Regions from separate parts of the Homo sapiens genome. Here regions 2 and 3 are each linked to region 1. Evidence: promoter capture Hi-C in 16 types of primary human blood cells and fetal thymus (Javierre and others, 2016). All regions are on one chromosome and are shown on one strand. The core of a region is centred on a gene start or on the middle of the fragment in contact, and the rest is flanking DNA. Distances in the headings are between cores, read along the strand shown. Region 1 holds the start of INSL6 (insulin like 6). Region 2 overlaps INCR1 (interferon stimulated noncoding RNA 1). Region 3 overlaps CD274 (CD274 molecule).

Region 1 (2,730 bases), core at 91-2,590:
TCAACTGAATTACTGTAAAAGGCAGTAATCTTCTTCCTATGGATACACTATAAACAAAGTGCAATTTCTTTTAAAATGACAAATCATACTGGGACTAAAATGTCTTAGTCACAAAATGTAAAAACATAGTAAGATATACCAATGAATCTGGAACAAGAATATCCTTCCTGCAGACTGCTTGAAAGCATCAAGTATAAATTCAGCGCATATTAAACACATGCGATGTGCTAGGCCATCTGCTAAGCATTTCAGACAAAAATATGCATGAAATAGTCCCTATAATACAGTATGGTATATAGGGCTGACTTTATGGGACTGAAACCTATGTAGTCACACAGGCCTTGCATTTGGTTTAAATGTTCCTTTGTTGTTCTGAATAAATTTACCTTTGAAACTTTAAGTGAATGAAATACAAGTACGTAAACTCTTAAATGAAGCCTGATAGGAGAACGGACCAGGCCTATCTCCTGGTACGTGACCAGGGGATATGGACAAGTAAGGAAAACAGTTTTATATTTTACTACCTTTATTTTCATGGCCCTTTCCTGCTTTTTTGAACAAGGTACTCTGCATTTTTATCTTCTACAAGGTTGGGCTGATTCTGTAGCCAATGACGACAGTCAAATACAACTATGTGCTAGATACTGTGGTAGAAAGGACAATGGAGCCATTGGCCATGAAAAGGTCAATGATGACTTCACAGGGAAAATGATACTTAAGTTGGGCTTTGAAGGACAAAAAGGAGTTTGCCAGATGACTGGCACTCCAGAAAAGAACAACATTCTTACATAAATATGTAGACTTACAAGTGTACATTTATTTCCTCCAAGTTAAAAAAAAAAGCGCTTCATTGAAGTTTTGTATATTTTCAATACACTGTTTTTTACAATTTTTTAAAGAGCTGTGTACTAGGCACAAATTCCACTTCCTGGGGAAGCTCACCTTCTGGCAGAGCAAATGCAGGAATAAGAAATATACAGAGGTGAACAAACATGCCTTCGGTTTCGATTTTTACCTGGGTTTGTGCCTCTTCCCCGGGCCGGGGAAGCGGTTTGCGGGCTTTCGAACTGGTATGGGCTGTAGGCTTCGACCTTCTCCGAGGCCTGTGCAATCAACCGTGAGAAAGGGGTTTCCTCCTCGAAACGGAACTGGCTCCAGTTGGCATGGCCGCAGAGTTTTTCTATTTCTTTCACCAAGTACCTGCCGCACAGCTTCCTGGCACTGCTGATGTCGCTCAGTTCACGAGAAAACCGAACCAGCAGGAGTCCAAGCCACAGCAGGGACAAGCGGAGGAGCCGCGGCATCCCTGTGACCCCAGGCTAGTCCTCCGCGTTGTGCAATGGCGGTCGGCCGGACCCTGCTCCCTGTCTGCGCCTGCGCCAGGCCGAGCGGCGCGCACAAACACTGCGGAATTCCGAGCGCGTGGGGGCGTCGCCAGAACTTCAAGGGAAGGCGCGCGCCGGCTGCGTCAAGGCTTTCCCGCCAGCTCAGGGGTCTCAGGTGGTCGAAGGTAGCAGGCCCTGGCTCCTAAAATGAAAGCCAAAAATCCCCTCACTACCCCGCCACCCCCTAGTTTGATTCATTTTTCTTTCCTTCCTCAATGGGAGATTCCTCACCAAGCGTGAGAACATAGGATCCCTGTTACCTGATAACGTAGGTTAAAAAGTGTTGCTCCCTCCACCTGGAATGCGTTTCTCGTTCTTGTTTGCCAGGTTGTTAATAAAGCTTCGTCTCCCTCACAGAAACCCCCTGTCATCTCTTTCACGGTGTTAATCGACCTGTTTCCATTTGTGGGCGTGTAACCTCTTTCCTGAGACCCCCGCTTCATGAAGGCAAGGGCCTGCGTCTGTTCTTGCTTTCCATCGTACCCCGGGATCTGGCATTTAGCTGGCAATCAAATATGTGGTGAAACGTTTAAGTGTTGCATATGGCCATGTGCGTTTAGTCAGGTTCAAAGCTTCTTCAGAAAAATCCTACTGGTTCACAGGGAGGCATGGGCCTTAGCCTCAATCTCCAGAAAAAAGAAGTAGGGACGCTGTCTTGAGGTACCTGGGATGGAAATCTGGTTCTTTCGGTTAGATAATGTAGAGGATTGTGTATTACCAAATTAACTTGTGACAGGGACCCCTAGAGGATTTGCCTTGTAAGAATAACAGCATGCAGCATGAAATGCTCATTTAGGTGAGATAATTTTGCTCAGTTAGGAGGGAAGGGGCAGGGAAGCGAAGCGCAATCGGCATAGGTAGCTTTATCATTTTAAATGAAGTTCTGTGTTACTAGTGTGTTGGCGTGGAAGGATGTACTATCGGCCACAAGAGGGCATTCGGTGGCTGTCTCAGGAATAAGGTTCAGGATGCTGAAGCCACAGGTGCAAGCTTATCAGTGATCTCACCATTTCCCTATACAATTTTATTTTTTTCTCCCTTTCTTTTCTGTCTTCTGACTCTATGTCTTTTTCTTAATTTTCCGTTTCCCTATCTTTTCCCTGCTTCCCAGTGGCATCCATGAATGCTGTTAAATTAACTGCCAATTGGATTTTTTAAATGGTTGATATAATATAGATTAGTAAAATTTAATCACCTTCCTTAAAAAATAACTTATGTCCAAACTATAGTGGGCCATGAGTCCTAGTCAGAACTTTATCAGGTAAGGTTTTTGAGAACGGAAAATATTAATCATACTGAGATGAATGTAAGCCTTGTGGTAACCACAAGGCAAAACCTATAGTAG
Region 2 (2,730 bases), core at 124-2,623, 300 kb after region 1:
AAAGAACACTAGGAAAAATTTCCCTTTGACCTTAATACAAACACACAAACACAAAATAGTTGTGTTTCCCCGAGTGAAAAGTTGCTTAGCTTTGCCCCTGCTCCCCAAATCTTGGAAATATTATTAATTGTTTAACTGTCCAAGCTTGGCTTAGAAAGCTTAGAATCAATTTTATTCTTTCACTCAACTAATTTACTGAGCATTTACTACATGTCAAACTTCAAGCTAGACACTGAGGATTCAAGAGGGAACAAGACAGACATGGTTCTTGCCCTCATGGAATTCACATTCTAATAAGGGGTCAAGGAAGTGGATGTGTGGAAACATATAACGAATAAACAAATGACTATATAAATGCAGCAATACCAATCAATAAGGGACCAAGCTAAATAATTGCCAAATTGGGAACCAATTTTAAATGGGATGGCTGGGACAGGGGCTTCTTCAAAAAGGTTGAATTTAAACCGAGCCAGCCATACAAAAGGGCGTACCCCCAGCAGGAGGCACAATGTGCACAGGAGCTTTGATGAGAGATTGAGTTAAGGAGTTCAAGGGCTAGAAAGGAGGCCAGGGTGACTAGAGAGTGGAGAGCAGAGCAGGGAGGGGCACAAGATGAGACTGTGCATCACGCAGGCCCGTGACAGCCATGGTGAAGAGTCCAAATTCTGTTCTAAATGCGGTGGGAAGTGGTTGCAAGTTTTTGTTTGTTTGTTTTTGTTTTTGTTTTGAGACAGAGTCTCGCTCTGTCACCAGGCTGGAGTGTAGTGGTGCAATCTCGGCTCACTGCAACATCTGCCCCTCGAGTTCAAGCGATTCTCCTGCCTCAGCCTCCCAAGTGGCTGGCACTCCAGGTGCACTCCACCACGCCCAGCTAATTTTTGTATTTTTAGTAGAGATGGGGTTTCACCATGCTGGCCAGGATGGTTTCGATCTCTTGACCTTGTGATCCACCCGCCTCGGCCTCCCAAAGTGCTGGGATTACAGGCGTGAGCCACCGTGCCCGGTCAGTTGCAAGTTTTAAGTAGGGGGAAATGATTGATCCAGCTTGTGTTATGAGATCATTTGGGCTGCAGTGTGGAGGAAGAACTAAAAGGACATGGAAGCAGGAGGACAGCCAGGTGATGGGTGTCGTAAGCCTGGGAAATGTGATGGTAATACAAGCATGTCAAGCCCGCAGATCCTGACAGTAAGCATGCCTTCCTGACTTGTGCCCGGGGAGAGGAGGCGACAGTGATTCTGACCTCTTCTTATTTCCCTCCCTTTCTAGCGCCACTTTCCTGAGCTTTTTTACTGTATGTTATGTATACCGTATGCTGTATGCTGTATGCTGTATGCTGTATCTAACAGCCCTTGTAAACAGCCTTAAATCCTTTCTAAACATCCTGGATAGTCCTAGAATCCTAGAATATGGATTCTTTCTTGGTTTCAAAACTGATTTCATTATATTGCATGGAAAGAAGAAATGTCTTTATTGTAGAGTGTTGGTATTTCTGGGTAGGTTGATTCAAAGATTAAGTTGTGAGGGCAGTTGGGACTTTTAGAGAAAGTGGATCTAGAAAATCTAAATTGTTACTAAGAAATATTGATGAATGTAGGTCATGGAGCTCAGAAAGAAGTATCTCTTTGATATTTTTCCTAAACTATGTGAAAGGGAAGCAATGGGAAATTTCGTGAACGGAGTCAGGAAAGCCTCAAGTTGGGTGGCTAGGAAGGGTAGAGGAGTTGCTATTAGGGAACCGAGGAGTGAATGTGGAGATGGTGAAGTGAGACAGGAGGCTGCTTCCTCAAAAGTCAGGACAGTTATGAGAATGCTCTGGTTTGAATGTCAAGATGTTACTGGAAATGAATAACTACAAATACACGCATGTTCATGCACACACACATACACAAACACATGAAGCTATTGAAAAGAATATGCAGCAAATGTGTTTTGTAAGTGAGCTAGTATCTAGTTGAAGTACCATGATCATCTTTAAAATCTCTTGCTAGAAGAGGAATGTTGACTGCCCAGTGTGGGTGTGGATAGGGAATGAATATCCTCGCTGTGGTATCCATAATTGAAATGCACTGTGCCTCATCTCCAGACCAGCCCTTACAGCAGTGCCAATCTCCTTCTTGTCCACTGCACAATAGCTCGCTGACTCTGCCTACTCTTTGGTCAGTTTCCCGGATATCCTTGTCTCTTCATTCTTAGTACATCACATCATTACTCAGGCCTCTTGCCTGGGCCCCTGGCAGCTTTAGGTACCTCATTCAGCGCAACTGTTTTCCTGTTTTCTTGAGCAGTGAGGTCATAATTTCATGACCTTGGATACACATTGCGTGAAGTAAAATGTTTATTAAGTCAGATGAATTAATAACATTTTCAGGAAGTTCATAATTGATGGAGACAAATTACATATGTACCATACATCAACACACACACACACAGAATGTGCACACTCAGGAGAGATTAATAGTGTGTATGTTTATTAGATATAAAGCAGCTGTAGCCTATGAAGAAAGGACAGAAGAAACAGCGAGGTACAGGAACTAGAGTCGACAAAGAAGAAAAGCAAAGATGCCCACATACATCCTACTTTTAATGCAAAGCTTGTCTCTGCTGGATAACATCACAAATCCCCCAACTAAAATCACCAATTGTTCTGTCCCTAAAGATATCTTTCTAGTTCTCAATCCCAGGCCAGGTGGGGCTCTATTTAACTCTCTTTTATTTAATCCACTTTTGAT
Region 3 (2,730 bases), core at 86-2,585, 280 kb after region 1:
AAGACGGGTTGAGAATCCCTAATTTGAGGGTCAGTTCCTGCAGAAGTGCCCTTTGCCTCCACTCAATGCCTCAATTTGTTTTCTGCATGACTGAGAGTCTCAGTGTTGGAACGGGACAGTATTTATGTATGAGTTTTTCCTATTTATTTTGAGTCTGTGAGGTCTTCTTGTCATGTGAGTGTGGTTGTGAATGATTTCTTTTGAAGATATATTGTAGTAGATGTTACAATTTTGTCGCCAAACTAAACTTGCTGCTTAATGATTTGCTCACATCTAGTAAAACATGGAGTATTTGTAAGGTGCTTGGTCTCCTCTATAACTACAAGTATACATTGGAAGCATAAAGATCAAACCGTTGGTTGCATAGGATGTCACCTTTATTTAACCCATTAATACTCTGGTTGACCTAATCTTATTCTCAGACCTCAAGTGTCTGTGCAGTATCTGTTCCATTTAAATATCAGCTTTACAATTATGTGGTAGCCTACACACATAATCTCATTTCATCGCTGTAACCACCCTGTTGTGATAACCACTATTATTTTACCCATCGTACAGCTGAGGAAGCAAACAGATTAAGTAACTTGCCCAAACCAGTAAATAGCAGACCTCAGACTGCCACCCACTGTCCTTTTATAATACAATTTACAGCTATATTTTACTTTAAGCAATTCTTTTATTCAAAAACCATTTATTAAGTGCCCTTGCAATATCAATCGCTGTGCCAGGCATTGAATCTACAGATGTGAGCAAGACAAAGTACCTGTCCTCAAGGAGCTCATAGTATAATGAGGAGATTAACAAGAAAATGTATTATTACAATTTAGTCCAGTGTCATAGCATAAGGATGATGCGAGGGGAAAACCCGAGCAGTGTTGCCAAGAGGAGGAAATAGGCCAATGTGGTCTGGGACGGTTGGATATACTTAAACATCTTAATAATCAGAGTAATTTTCATTTACAAAGAGAGGTCGGTACTTAAAATAACCCTGAAAAATAACACTGGAATTCCTTTTCTAGCATTATATTTATTCCTGATTTGCCTTTGCCATATAATCTAATGCTTGTTTATATAGTGTCTGGTATTGTTTAACAGTTCTGTCTTTTCTATTTAAATGCCACTAAATTTTAAATTCATACCTTTCCATGATTCAAAATTCAAAAGATCCCATGGGAGATGGTTGGAAAATCTCCACTTCATCCTCCAAGCCATTCAAGTTTCCTTTCCAGAAGCAACTGCTACTGCCTTTCATTCATATGTTCTTCTAAAGATAGTCTACATTTGGAAATGTATGTTAAAAGCACGTATTTTTAAAATTTTTTTCCTAAATAGTAACACATTGTATGTCTGCTGTGTACTTTGCTATTTTTATTTATTTTAGTGTTTCTTATATAGCAGATGGAATGAATTTGAAGTTCCCAGGGCTGAGGATCCATGCCTTCTTTGTTTCTAAGTTATCTTTCCCATAGCTTTTCATTATCTTTCATATGATCCAGTATATGTTAAATATGTCCTACATATACATTTAGACAACCACCATTTGTTAAGTATTTGCTCTAGGACAGAGTTTGGATTTGTTTATGTTTGCTCAAAAGGAGACCCATGGGCTCTCCAGGGTGCACTGAGTCAATCTAGTCCTAAAAAGCAATCTTATTATTAACTCTGTATGACAGAATCATGTCTGGAACTTTTGTTTTCTGCTTTCTGTCAAGTATAAACTTCACTTTGATGCTGTACTTGCAAAATCACATTTTCTTTCTGGAAATTCCGGCAGTGTACCTTGACTGCTAGCTACCCTGTGCCAGAAAAGCCTCATTCGTTGTGCTTGAACCCTTGAATGCCACCAGCTGTCATCACTACACAGCCCTCCTAAGAGGCTTCCTGGAGGTTTCGAGATTCAGATGCCCTGGGAGATCCCAGAGTTTCCTTTCCCTCTTGGCCATATTCTGGTGTCAATGACAAGGAGTACCTTGGCTTTGCCACATGTCAAGGCTGAAGAAACAGTGTCTCCAACAGAGCTCCTTGTGTTATCTGTTTGTACATGTGCATTTGTACAGTAATTGGTGTGACAGTGTTCTTTGTGTGAATTACAGGCAAGAATTGTGGCTGAGCAAGGCACATAGTCTACTCAGTCTATTCCTAAGTCCTAACTCCTCCTTGTGGTGTTGGATTTGTAAGGCACTTTATCCCTTTTGTCTCATGTTTCATCGTAAATGGCATAGGCAGAGATGATACCTAATTCTGCATTTGATTGTCACTTTTTGTACCTGCATTAATTTAATAAAATATTCTTATTTATTTTGTTACTTGGTACACCAGCATGTCCATTTTCTTGTTTATTTTGTGTTTAATAAAATGTTCAGTTTAACATCCCAGTGGAGAAAGTTACTTGGAATATTTGCAGCCTTGTTCCTAGTTCTTTTTTCATTGCTTATACAGCATGTTTTTATACAGCATGCTTTTGAATCCTGCACAATGAAAAAAGTATCAAAAGATTTTATTTTAAAAAAGAATGTATTGAAAATTTTCATTCTCTCTCATTCGGCAGCTTCCTTTAGGACCATACCAAGAAGAGTCAAAATCCTGTCATCTACATTGAAGATCTAAGGGAGAGAGGGTGGGAGAGAAGGAGTGGAACCCAATAGAACTATAGGGAAACAAAGGGACTTACCTCTAAGAAAGTACTTTTCCCAGATCTGTAAACGGGTATGCAATCCAGTGTGTAGGAAG

Evidence for each region. Contacts are between HindIII fragments. The CHiCAGO score rates a contact against its expected background, and 5 or more counts as called.
Region 2: a fragment that was not itself captured here is called in contact with the fragment with the promoter of INSL6 in region 1 in 1 of 17 cell types (naive CD8 T cells); the score reaches 5.3 in naive CD8 T cells.
Region 3: a fragment that was not itself captured here is called in contact with the fragment with the promoter of INSL6 in region 1 in 1 of 17 cell types (activated CD4 T cells); the score reaches 5.6 in activated CD4 T cells.

What each region holds. Positions count from the first base shown.
Region 1 is chr9:5,184,299-5,187,028 of GRCh38, forward strand. INSL6 (insulin like 6) reads right to left here and starts at 1,341. Exons shown (of 2, transcript NM_007179.3): 1 at 1,016-1,341. The coding sequence starts at 1,304. The HindIII fragment of the contact is 2,408 bases long and covers 1-1,723 here.
Region 2 is chr9:5,486,651-5,489,380 of GRCh38, forward strand. All of the region lies in intron 2 of INCR1 (interferon stimulated noncoding RNA 1), which reads right to left. Among named protein-coding and RNA genes, the nearest start is that of PDCD1LG2, 23 kb to the right of the region's middle. The HindIII fragment of the contact is 2,434 bases long and covers 157-2,590 here.
Region 3 is chr9:5,468,180-5,470,909 of GRCh38, forward strand. CD274 (CD274 molecule) reads left to right here. Exons shown (of 7, transcript NM_014143.4): 7 at 1-2,375. The region is part of intron 2 of INCR1 (interferon stimulated noncoding RNA 1); the gene reads right to left. Among named protein-coding and RNA genes, the nearest start is that of CD274, 19 kb to the left of the region's middle. The HindIII fragment of the contact is 4,382 bases long and covers 1-2,730 here.